2 separate regions of the Homo sapiens genome follow, and region 2 is linked to region 1. Evidence: promoter capture Hi-C in human tissues and cell types (Jung and others, 2019). All regions are on one chromosome and are shown on one strand. Each heading gives the region's core, a stretch centred on a gene start or on the middle of the fragment in contact. The rest is flanking DNA. Distances are from core to core; before and after follow the strand shown.

What was found. Contacts are between HindIII fragments. The study calls those that stand out against the background at their distance.
Region 2: a contact is called between a fragment that was not itself captured here and the fragment with the promoter of ASB16 in region 1, in 1 of the 25 tissues and cell types used here (dorsolateral prefrontal cortex).

Annotation. Positions count from the first base shown.
Region 1 is chr17:44,167,255-44,173,607 of GRCh38, reverse strand. It overlaps ASB16 (ankyrin repeat and SOCS box containing 16), which reads right to left and starts at 2,904. Exons shown (of 5, transcript NM_080863.5): 1 at 2,518-2,904; 2 at 1,295-1,562. The coding sequence starts at 2,818. The HindIII fragment of the contact is 17,920 bases long and covers 1-3,297 here.
Region 2 is chr17:44,691,500-44,697,852 of GRCh38, reverse strand. No RefSeq gene overlaps it. Among named protein-coding and RNA genes, the nearest start is that of CCDC43, 4.9 kb to the right of the region's middle. The HindIII fragment of the contact is 6,435 bases long and covers 1-6,337 here.

The DNA.
Region 1 (6,353 bases), core at 1,655-4,154:
GATCATCCTGCCTCAGCCTCCCGAGTAGCTAGGACTAGAGGCTCATGCCACCATACCCGGCTAGTTTTTATTTTTAGTAGAGACAAAAACCTCACTTACGTTGCCCAAACTATTCTCAAACTCCTGGACTCAAGCAATCCTCCTGCCTCCGCCTCCAAAAGTGTTGGGATTACAGGTGTGAGCCACTGAATCTGGCCCATAGGTCTTTTTTTTTTTGAGATGGAGTCTCAACTGTTGCAGGGGCTAGTGTGTAGTGGCACAATCTCGGTTCACTGCAACCTCTGCATCCCGGGTTCAAGCGATTCTCCTGCCTCAGCCTCCCGAGTAGCTAGGATTACAGGCGCCAGCCACCATGCCCAGCCTGGCTAATTTTTTGTATTTTTAATAGAGACGGGGTTTCACTATGTTGGCCAGGCTGGTCTTGAACTCCTGAACTCGTGATCCACCCGCCTCAGCCTCCCAAAGTGCTGGGATTACAGGCGTGAGCCATGGCGCCCGGCTTTTTTTTTTTTTTTTTTTTTTTTAAGACAGTCTCGCTGGAGTGCAGTGGCAGAATCTCGGCTCACTGCAACCTCTGCCTCCCGGGTTCAAGCGATTCTTGTGCCTCGACCTACTAGTAGCTGGAATTACAGGTGTGAGCCACCACACCTGGCCAGATCTTTCTTAATACCTCAAAACAACTAGGAATTTGGGCTGGGCATGGTGGCTCACGCCTGTAATCCCAGCACTTTGGGAGGCCAAGGTGGGTGGATCACTTGAGGACAGGAGTTCAAGACCAGCCTGGCCAACATGGCAAAACCCCATCTCCACTAGAAATGCAAAACCTAGCCAGGTGTGGTGGCACACACCTGTAATTCCAGCTACTTGGGAGGCTGAGGCATTTGAACCCAGGAGGCAGAGGTTGCAGTGAGCTGAGACCACGCCACTGCACTACAGCCTGGGCAACAGAGCAAGACTTCGTCTCAAAAAACAAAAAAAAACAGCTAGGTTTGGCTACAAAGGATTCACAGGGTATTGGAGACTGCAGTTGGAACAGAGTTTTCCCAAAAAGCAACAGGGCTTCTGCCTCCTGGGCTTAGCAGATGTGACCTTGGACAAGTTACTAAGCCTTTCTGAGCTTCATTTTTCTCATCTGTAGGATGAGGTGTCTCCAGGTTATTGTGAAGATGTGTATATGCGGTGCTTTATGAACCACAAAGCTGCATGTGGTTGTCAGGTTCCCTCTTCTGGCCTTGTGAGCTGGAGACACACACACACATTTCTCCCCAAACTGTCTCAGCCCCCAGGCACCTACTGCAAGGACTCGGGGATCGTGCAGAGGTGCAAAGGAGTCGTGCCCTCCTCAGTCAGCACATTAGCCTTGGCTCCGAAGGTCAGCAGCAGCCGCACACAGTCAAACTGGGCTCGGGCACAGGCCTCATGCAAGGCAGCGCGACCCCCGACACGGGCATCCAGCTCAGCTCCCTGCCGGATCAGGTGTCGAGCACAGTCTGTGTAGCCTCGGGCTGTAGCGATGGCGAGGGGTGCCGTCTGCTTGGTCTTGGGGGTCAGCACCCAGAACCCTAGGGAGAGCAAATAGTTTTGGGAGGTGGTGTATAAGACAGGGCAGGGCAGGGAGTGGGGATGCTGGTTCCAGCTGACAGCTGACACTGGCCTTCCCTCTGCATGGTTTGCTGAGCACAAACACTGCCAGGCTGTACCTGTGGAAGGGGGCTTATTCAAGTCCTGAAGTGGAAGAATAAATTGGAACAGCCTTTTAATACAGCTTATCAATCTGTAACAAAACATAGTATGTGTCATAAAAAAATTAATTGCTGTATAAAACCACAGGGGCCAACTAAGTAGAGTGACTCCCATTAAGGAAATCTCAGCGTCTTTGAATGGCTAATAGTGTCAAAGGCTTGTTCACCTTGGGGCCTGGGGTGGTGGCTCACACCTGTAATCCTAGCACTTTGGGAGGCCAAGGCGGGATGATCACTTGACCTCAGGAGTTCGAGATGAGCCTGGGCAACATAGTGAGACCTTGTCTCTTTTTTTTTTTTTTTTAGGCAGGGTCTCGCTCTGTCCCCCAGGCTGGAATGCAGTGGCGCTATCTTGGCTCACTGCAAGCTCCGCCTCCCGGGTTTAAGTGATTCTTCTGCCTCAGCTGCTGAGTAGCTGGGATTACAGGTGCGCACCACCATGCCCGGCTAATTTTTCTATTTTTAGTAGAGATGGGGTTTTACCATGTTGGTCAGGCTGGTCTCAAACTTCTGACTTCGTGATCCGCCTGCCTTGGCCTCCCAAAGTGCTGGGATTACAGGCGTGAGCCACTGTGCCCGGTCAACTTTTAATTCTTAAAAGACATACAGACTGCTAACCCTGCCTCATCTCTGTTTAGGAGGGAGCTAGGATAGGTGGTGGAAAGGGCTGCTATAGTCTGTGGTCTGCAGGGAAGGAGGGGCCTAGACTCTCCCCCTTCCCCACCCACTCCCCTTCTTTCTCCCTCCTCTTCTGCCCTCTTCTGGTGCCCCCTACCCTGTTCAGCCGACCAGGCCAGCTGGTTGCTCACAGTCTCCACAATCATGTTGGCGGCCTCTTCATCTTGGAACAGGGCTTGGACCTGCTGCAGGTTGCCGGAGAAGAGGGCTTGGTGGACAGCTGGGTCTCGGCAGGAACGGTGAGGCCTAGTGAGTCGGGCCCGGGGACTTGACGGGCACCTGCGGCTCCGGCACTGCTGGGCAGCCGCCCGCCGCCGGTCCTCCCATTCCAGCCACTCCTGCTGCAGGCGGAGAGAGCGCAGCATGGAGGAGGTGAAGGGGAAGGTCTCTCTTGCCATGGATGGGGCCCAGGGGTTTGGGCAGTGGCACCTGGGCAGAGCCAGGTTCCCTCGACCCGACTACCTCCCTTGCTCTGAGGAGCCACCCTGCCCCCGCCACCGTGAGCCAGAGAAAGCAGCAGCTGAGGCTATAAATAGGTCCTTTGCTGCTCTGGTAAACATGGTTTGCTCAGAGTCATGATCCTGGTGCTGAGAAGCTGCTGGCCCAACCCCCAGCCCAGGGTGAGGGCCAGCCCCTGCCCCTGCCGATACCCTTTGGTTGGTCAGCAGGCCCTCAGCTGAGGCCACCCCCGAACCCCAGCATCTGCATCCACCTTCATCTCTAGAGCGAGCATCTTGGGTTGGCAAGGTCCAGGGTGCGCAAAAAGGTCAGTCATGGAGATGGGCAGGGCTGGGAGGAAGACAAGGTGCCTCCAGCCTCTCTGATGTTGGCTGGAGGGCAGGAGCCACCATTGGCCCACGTGGAGGAGAGAGGGCTGACCTCAGCACAGGAGGTAAGGGGAGGTCAAGGCAGAGTTACTGAGAAGGTGAGCAGCTCTTCCCAGCATCTGCAGTAACAGCAATAACTCTGTACATATGCACAGAGTTTCACGGTGTTTAAATCACATTCATATCCACCTTCACCCAGGGGATCATACTTCCCAGCCCACCCAATAATTAGTAAACTTGGTTTGGACAATAAATGAAATTATCACAGTTGAATGCCCCTGAGATGGGTGGTCTTATCTCTGTTTTACAGATGAGGAATTTAAGGCTTAACAAAGTAATCTACTGGCTCAAGGTCACAGTTTGTGAGAGGCAGAGCCAGGACCCCACATAGATGGTGTGCTTTGGGCCAAGAATGGTGGCTCATGCCTGTAATCCTAGCACTTTGGGAGGCCAAGACAGGAGGATTGCTTGAGCCTAGGAGTTTGAGACAATCCTGGGCAACACAGTGAGACCTATATCTTTTTTTTTTTTTTTTTTTTTTTTGAGACAGAGTCTCACCCTGTCTCCCATGCTGGAGTGCAATGGCACGATCTTGGCTCACTGCAACCTCCGCCTCCCGGGCTCAAACGATTCTCTTGCCTCAGCCTCCTGAGTAGCTGGGATTATAGGCACCCGCCACCATGCCCAGCTAAATTTTGTATTTTTAGTAGAGATTTAATTTAGGGTTTCACCATGTTGGCCAGGCTGGTCTCGAACTCCTGACCTCGTGGTCTGCCCGCCTCGGCCTCCCAAAGTGCTAGGATTATAGGCGTGAGCCACCACCCCCTGCCTCTCCATCTCTTAAAAAAAGAAGAAAAAAAAAAAAAGATGGTACACTTTTTGCCTTCAGCTGCTGCAGCCACCTGGCAGCCTCCCCCATTCTCCAAGCAGGACAGACTAGTCTGTAGAAACTGCCTTCAATCATCCTTTTTTTTTTTTTCTCATGGTGTCACCCAGTCTGGAGTGCAGTGGGGTGATCTCGGCTCACTGAAACCTCCGTTTCCTGGGGTTCAAGTGATTCTCCTGCCTTAGCTGCCTGAGTAGCTGGGATTATAGGTGCATGCCACCATGCCCAGCTGATTTTTGTATTTTTATTTATTATTATTTTTTTTTTGAGATGGAGTCTCGCTCTGTCACCCAGGCTGGAGTGCAGTGGCGCGACCTCGGCTCACTGCAAGCTCCGCCTCCCGGGTTCACGCCATTCTCCTGCCTCAGCCTCCCGAGTAGCTGGGACCACAGGCGCCTGCCACCACACCTGGCTAATTTTTTGTATTTTTAGTAGAGACAAGGTTTCGCCGTATTAGCCAAGAATAGGATGGTTTCGATCTCCTGACCTCGTGATCCGCCCGCCTCGGCCTCCCAAAGTGCTGGGATCACAGGCGTGAGCCACCGCGCCCGGCCGATTTTTGTATTTTTAGTAGTCGGTTTCGCCATGTTGGCCAGGCTGGTCTGAAACTCCTGACTTCAGGCGATCTGCCCGCCTCGGCCCCCCAAAGTGTTGGTATTACAGGCGTGAGCCACAGCTCCCAGCACCTTCAATCATCCTTGATTTATTTTTTTAACCCAGCTGCTAAGGGGGCTCACATGGCCGGCCTGAGGAGAGCCAAGGGGTTGAGCTGGAAACTCTGGGAATGGACCTAAGATGTTTAAGCCACAGACCTGTTCACTCTTAGGAGAAAGCAGCTGTGCTTCCAGGAGCCTCTAGGGGGAGGAATGAAGCCGTGAAACCACACAAGCTGGTGTGCCTGCCAAGCTGGGGAAGGGGAGGGCTCAAAAGCTCTGCTCACCCTGAGCTCACTCAGTGCACAGCGGCCTGCAGGCAGGGCTGGTCTGTCCCCTCTGCATCTGGGGCTCCTCCTGGCCCTTCTCCCGCTGCCTGTCCTGCCTCCTGGCCCTGCAGCAGCACCTTGCCCAGTGATCTTTTATTTCTTCCTCTCCCTAGGCCCTTCCCATAAGCAAGTTCTAGCTCCTGTTCTTACATTTTCAGGGACTGTCTCAAGTTCAGCCCCTCGATGTAATGCCTTAAACCTGGATCAACTCAGTCTTTCACCTGGTGTTTCTTCCTCTGGCCATATCCCTTCTGCTCCGCTGCCGGAATGATCTGTCTAAAATGGTTAATTCCCTTGCTTAAAAACTTCTGCTGCCTTCCAATACCTGTCCTTTCATTTTTTTAAAATAGGGCTCCAAATCCTGGCCTCAAGCAGTCCTCCCAAGTCAGCCTCCTGAATTGCTGGGATTACAGGTGTGAGCCACTGCACCTGGCCTGCCCTTTTCAACTAAGCCCCCAATTCCTTGGTTTGGCCCCATGCCACTCACGTAGGGTAGGCATCCTCATCACGCACGGCTCCCCACAACCGTTCCCTGTCAGGCCATTCCCTTAGCTCAGAATTCCCTCAACACCTTCCTGAGGATCTACCCCTAAGGTCACCTGCTCTGAGAGGTCTCTTCAGCAACCCATTGCCTGACTCTTATAGTTCCAGCCACTGCCCAATCTGCACTCCTGAAGGACTCAGGGGCACGCTGTAAAGCACCTATCTATGCTGTTGATGTGGGTCTGCCATGCTGGATGTGGGCTCCAGAGCAGGCCCTGGCAGTCAGAGCACTTGGCTCATGGCAGGCGGGCCTCTTATGTGTAGTGCATTGAACGAAGGTCCCTGTTCTCTGCCAGAGCAAACATCCATCCACCCGCCCGCCCAAGTGGGTGGCAGCAGCCTGGGCTTTTTCCGGCATTGCCCCTACTCTACTGTTCACCTACTCTCTGCCTGGCTCCAGCCTCTTGGTGGCAGTCCAGGGTGGGGGATCCCAGAGGAGGAATTAGATCATACAAAGCAAAGCCTGGAGGTCCTCAGAGAAAGATGCCTCTATAAATGCAGCCTTGATGAACCCTGTTGGCACCCATTTGGTGTGTTAATTGCCACATCAACGGCCTGGCTGGGCACCCACAGCTGGGTTCCCAGGGTTGAGAATCTGGCAAGGCTGGGTGAGACCAAGAGAGGCCAAGGCAGGTGGGTGTCCCCTTCCTCCCTGAGGCACACAAGAGTCATAGCCTAGCCCCTCCCCTGCCTTC
Region 2 (6,353 bases), core at 1,871-4,370, 520 kb before region 1:
CTAAGAGTCCATCATAGGGGTCAAGACTGCAGTCAAGACAGTCATGAAAACCAAGAATTGAAATGAATAGAACTTAAATAGCTGTAATACACATTGTTAAACCAAAAGTTTTAAAGTAATGAATACAGCTGGGTGTGGTGGCTCACGCCTGTCATCCCAGCACTTTGGGAAGCTGAGGCAGTCGGATCACCTGAGATCAGGAGTTCAAGAGCAGCCTGACAAACATGGAGAAACCCCGTCTCTACTAAAAATACAAAATTAGCCTGGCGTAGTGGTGCATGCCTGTAATCCCAGCTACTCAGGAGGCTGAGGCAGGAGAATCGCTTGAACCCGGGAGGCAGAGTTTGCAGTGAGCCAAGGTCACGCTATTGCACTCCAGGATGGGCAACAAGAGCAAAACTCCGTCTCAAAAAAAAGGTAATGAATACTTAACACTACTAAACGGTAAACTTAAAAAGGGTTAAGATGGGGCCGGGTGCAGTCCCTTATGCCTGTAATCCCAGCAGTTTGGGGGTCCGAGGTGGATAAATTGGTATATAGTTGGATGTTAAGATGGGTCCGGGTTGGCTGGGCGCGGTGGCTCACGCCTGTAATCCCAGCACTTTGGGAGGCCGAGGCGGGCGGATCATGAGGTCAGGAGATCGAGACCATCCTGGCTAACACGATGAAACCCCGTCTCTACTAAAAATACAAAAAAAAAAATTAGCCGGGCGCGGTGGCGGGCGCCTGTAGTCCCAGTTACTCCGGAGGCTGAGGCAGGAGAATGGCGTGAACCTGGGAGGCGGAGCTTGCAGTGAGCCGAGATCACGCCACTGCACTCCAGCCTGGGCGACAGAGTAAGACTCCGTCTCAAAAAAAAAAAAAAAAAAAAAAGATGGGTCCGGGTGCAATCTCTTATGCCTGTAATCCCAGCACTTTGGGGGGCTGAGGTGGACGGATTGCTTGAGGCCAGGAGATCGAGATCAGCCTGGTCAACATGGTGAAATCCTGTCTCTACCAAAAAAAAAAAAAAAAAAAAAGATTAAAATGCCAAATTACATATTTTACCACAATTAAAAATAAAAATAAATAAAGAAGTGGGGGTGGTAATGAAACATCTTCAACTACATTATTTTTACTAAGGACTTTTGGTATACTACAAATAATAAATATTTATATTATGTACTTCTTTCTTTTTTTTTTTTTTTCAGACGGAGTCTTGCTCTGTCGCCTAGGCCTGGAGTGCAGTGGTTCAATCTTGGCTCACTGCAACCTCCGCTCCCCGGGTTCAAGCGATTCTTTTGCCTCAGACTCCCGAGTAGCTGGGATTACAGATGCCCACCACCATTGCTCGGCTAATTTTTGTATTTTTAGTACAGACCCGGTTTCACCATGTTGGCCAGGCTGGTCTTGAACCCCTGACCTCAAGTGATCCACCCACCTCGGCCTCTCAAAGTGTTGGGATTACAGGTGTGAGCCATCACGCCCGGCCTACTTCATTTTTTAACGATTTTCTCCTTTTTGTAGTTCTCTTTTTGTATGTTTTATGATGGACATACTAATTTGATATAGCAGTTCACACAAATAATTCATAAATAACTACATATTAGTGCATTAGGTGTACATGCTGAGAATATTTTTACTGCTAAGAGTATGTGGCAAAAATGTCTGATGCTCACTGATCTAGAGGAACTTTCCCATGGTGGGCAAGGGGACCACCTAAGAATGTGAACTGGTGCACTGACTGGAAAACTAGGAACTAACCTCACCATCCATCGGCAGAGGAATGGATCAGCTGGAGCATATTAAAGCAACGGAATACTATGCAGTGATTTAAATGGATGGATAAGAGCTACATATATCAACATGGGTAAAGATATATATAAAATATATATAGATACATATATATTATATATATTTTTTTCTTTTTTTTTTTGAGATGGGGTTTCGCTTTTGTTGCCCAGGCTGGAGTGCAATGGCGCGATCTCGGCTAACCGCAACCTCCGCCTCCCGGGTTCAAGCGATTCTCCTGTCTCAGCCTCCCAAGTAGCTGGGATTACAGGCATGTGCCACCAAACCTGGCTAATTTTGCATTTTTAGTAGAGATGGGGTTTCTCCATGTTGGTCAGGCTTGTCCCGAACCCCTGACCTCAGGTGATCCGCCCGCCTTGGCCTCCCAAAGTGCTGGGATTACAGGCATGAGCCACCGTGCCCGGCCATATACACGTATATATTTTTTGAGACAGGGTCTTGCTCTGTCACCTAGGCTGGAGTGCAGTGGCGCAGTCTTGGCTCACTGCAACCTCCGCCTCCCAGGTTCAAGCTATTCTCCTGCCTCAGCCTCCTAAGTAGCTGGGATTACAGGCGTGCGTGACCACGCCCAGTTAATTTTTGTAGCTTTAGTAGAGATGGGGTTTCACCATGTTGGTGAGGCTTGTCTCAAACTCTTGACCTCAGCTGATCCACCCGCCTAGGCCTCCCAAAGTGCTGGGATTACAGGCATGAGCGACTGCGCCCGGCCCAACATGGGTAAATATTTTAAACAACCTTGAGTGAAAAAGCACATTGCAGAATGAAAAGTACAGCATGCACACCAATGTGATATATTATGGATACATCCATATGTTGTAATATGTATTATATATGTAGCAATGTGTACTATGTTTAAAAACATTCAAGAAGAAAATAAACACCAAATTCAGGAATAGTGGTTACATCTGGGGAGAGAGGGGAGAAAATGAGGTTGGAGAAAGGGCTTCAAATTTGCTTTCTTTTACAAAAAGATACAAAGTAAATAAATATAACAGTTCAAAACCAGTCTCCTTCAGTTCTCCTCCTCAGTGGACAACCATTCTCACATATCCCTGGTGTATCTTTCCAGAGATAGCCTATGCACATACAAGGACACATATGTACATGTATTCCCCTACCCTAACTTCTTTTTAAATAGTGATGGTGGCAAGCATTACATATTGTTGATCTGTACTTTTTAAACAATGTATCTCGAACTTTGATACATGTCAGTGCATAAAGAGCTTCTTTGTTCTTTTTTTTTTTTTTTTTTCGAGACGGAGTCTTGCTCTGTAGCCCAGGCTGGAGAGCAATGGCATGATCTCCTCTCACTGCAACCTCTGCCTCCTGGATTCAAGCGATTCTCCTGCCTCAGCCTCCCGAGTAGCTGGGATTACAGGTGCTTACCACCATGCCCAGCTAATTTTTGTATTTTTAGTTGGCCAGGCTGGTCTCGAACTCTTGACCTCAGGTGATCCACCTGCTTTGGCCTCCCAAAGTGCTGGGACTACAGGCACCAGCCACCGCGCCCGGCCTCTTTGTTCATTTTTTTTTTTTTTTTTACAGCTGTGCAATACTTCTTTGTGTGGCTACCAGAGTTTTTGAACCAGTCTCATATACATAAAATGTAGACTATTCTTTTACTACAAAAAGCTTCACTACAATGAATATCCTTAGAAAAATGTGATTCTACACAAATGCACAGTTTTATTTTTTAAAGACAGAGTTTTGTTCTGTTGTTCAGGCTAGAATGCAGTGGCATCATCATAGCTCATGTAAATTTGAGCTCCTGGGCTCAAGTGATCCTCTTGCCTCAACCTCCTGAGTAGGTAGGACAAAAGACATGCACCACCACTTTTTTTTTTTGTAGAGCTGGGGTCTCATTATGTTGACCAGGTTAGTCTCGAACTCCTGGCCTCAAGCAATCCTCCCTTGTCAGCCTCCCAAAGTACTGGGATTACAGGTGTAAGCCAGTGTGCCTGGCCATTATACAAAATATTAAATCAAAATTTTTTTCTTTTTTTGAGACAGAGTCTCACTCTGTTGCCCAGGCTGGAATGCAGTGGCATTATCTCAACTCACTGCAACCTCCGTGTCCCGAATTCGAGTGAATCTCCTGCCTCAGCTTCTCAAGTGGCCAAGTAGCTGGGACTATAGGCATGCATTACCACACCTGGCTAATTTTTATATTTTTAGTAGAGACAGGGTTTTGCCATGTTGGCTAGACTGGTCTTGAACTCCTGACCTCAGTGATCCACCCACCTTGGCCTCCCTAAGTGCGGGGATTACAGGCGTGAGCCACCGCGCCCAGCCAACCACGCCCAGTTTAAACCACGCCCAGTTTAAACAGGCACCACGCCCAGTTTAAACCAAAAATTTTAAAAATAATTAATACTTAACACTATTAAATCGTATACTTAAAAATAGTTAAGATGGCAAATTGTGTATTTTACCACAAGTAAAGATAAAAATAAATGAATAACTTATGAACAAATTCCCAGAAGCAGAAATGCTGGGTCTTTTCAAACAAACAGTCCTCCAACAAGACCAGATCCATTTACTTTCTGCTCTAACATTTTCCAATGTCTTTTACCCAAGCACAGTTCAATACAGCATATTATCAGACTTTTTTGATCTGAAAAGCGGACGTGGTATTTCACTGCAATCTTAATTTGCGTATTTTATTTTTTGTAAGCTTTCAATTTGTCGCTTATCCATTTATATAATTTTTTCTTTTTTTTTGTTGAGACAGAGTTTTGCCCTTGTTGCCCAGGTTGGAGTACAATGGCGTAATCTCAGCTCACTGTAACCTCCGCCTCCTGGTTTCAAGCAATTCTCCTGCCTCAGCCTCCCAAGTAACTGGGATTACATGCGCCTACCACCATAGCTGGCTAATTTTTTTGTTTTTTTTGTTTTTTTTTGAGATGGAGTCTCACTCTGTTGCCCAGGCTGGAGAGCAGTGGTCAGATCTCGGCTCACTGCAAGCTCTGCCTCCCGGATTCGCGCCATTCTCCTGCTTCAGCCTCCCTAGTAGCTGGGACTATAGGCGCCCGCAACCACACCCAGTTAATTTTTTTTTGTATTTTTAGTAGAGACGGGGTTTCACCTATTATCCAGGATGGTCTCGATCTCCTGACCTCGTGATCTGCCCGCCTCGGCCTCCCAAAGTGCTGGGATTACAGGTGTGAGCCACCGCGCAGGGCCATTTTTTTGTATTTTTTTAGTAGAGATGGGGTTTCACCAGTTGGCCAGGCTGGTCTCGAACTCCCGACCTCAGTTGATCTACCCGCGTTGGCCTTCCAAAGTGCTGGGATTACAGGCGTGAGCCACCGTGCTTGGCCTTATATAATATTTTTTAAAGCATGAGCTATGTTACTTTTGTAGTAAAATAGCCATTGAGGATATTCTTAAAATTTAGGGTCTGGAGAACCTTGATTCAGTTTTTGAGAAGCTTGTTGATGCTTTCAAAAAACCTTATTGCATTATGGCCAGGAGCAGTGTCTCATGCCTGTAATCCCAGCGCTTTGGGATGCCGAAGCAGGTGCATCACCTGAGATCAGCAGTTTGAGACCAGCTTGGCCAACATGGCAAAACCCTATCTCTACTAAAAATAGGAAAAAAATTAGCCGGGTGTGGTGCTGGGTGCCTGTAATCCCAGCTACATGGAAGGGTGAGGCAGGAGAATTGCTTGAACCCAGGAGACGGAGGTTGTAGTGAGCTGAGATCATACCACTGCACTCCAGTCTGGACGACAACCGTGAGACTCCACCTCAAAACAAAAACCAAAAAAACCTTATTGCATAATACCTATATCAATTTCCTGATTTACTATTATACTGTCTTTATGTTTGATGTTACTATTGGGGGAAACTGGGTGAAGGTGTGCAGGACTCTATGTACTATTTTTGAAACTTCTTGTGAGGCTGTATTTCTAAAAAACAAAATTTTGTGATGTTTTTCTGGTTTGGGGGCTCTGCACTGACCAGCTATCATCCTTGAGCCATGATGGCACCCAGGTCTGTGAACTGACAAGCCCTACCTGCAAGACAGCTACTAGATTAGAAAGAATAACTGAGGACTTGAAAAAGAGGCAAGCCTTTGGAGGCTGACTCTGGCCTCTGACTCTGTTAGTGTCACATTCTATCTAACTCAGCGAGCACACAGAAGCCACGCAACTAAAATTCACACTCTGCCATATTTCTTACATTTGTATCTGTGCCATTCATTTAGTGTCCATTCATTTACATAATCCCAATGCCACTAAGGGTAGACCTCTGCAATAAGAGGACCTCTGCAAGGTATACAAACTCCTTTCCTTCTTTTTTTGTTGTTATCCCCTGAATATCTTCTATTTGAATCCTGTAGCTCAAGCCATACATGACTCTCTGGAGGCCCCCTAGCAAGCCTTTGAATTCACAGTTCCCCTGCATCTGGATCTACCCCCTTTTTCCCTCCAGTCCCTTTATGTAAAGAACTCCTACCATTCTTCAAGAAAGTTCAAGCATCATCTCCACTGGGAAGCCTTCCTGGATTTCCTATGAACCTCTCCCCACCTGCTTCCAACTCCACTCCAACAGGTAAAG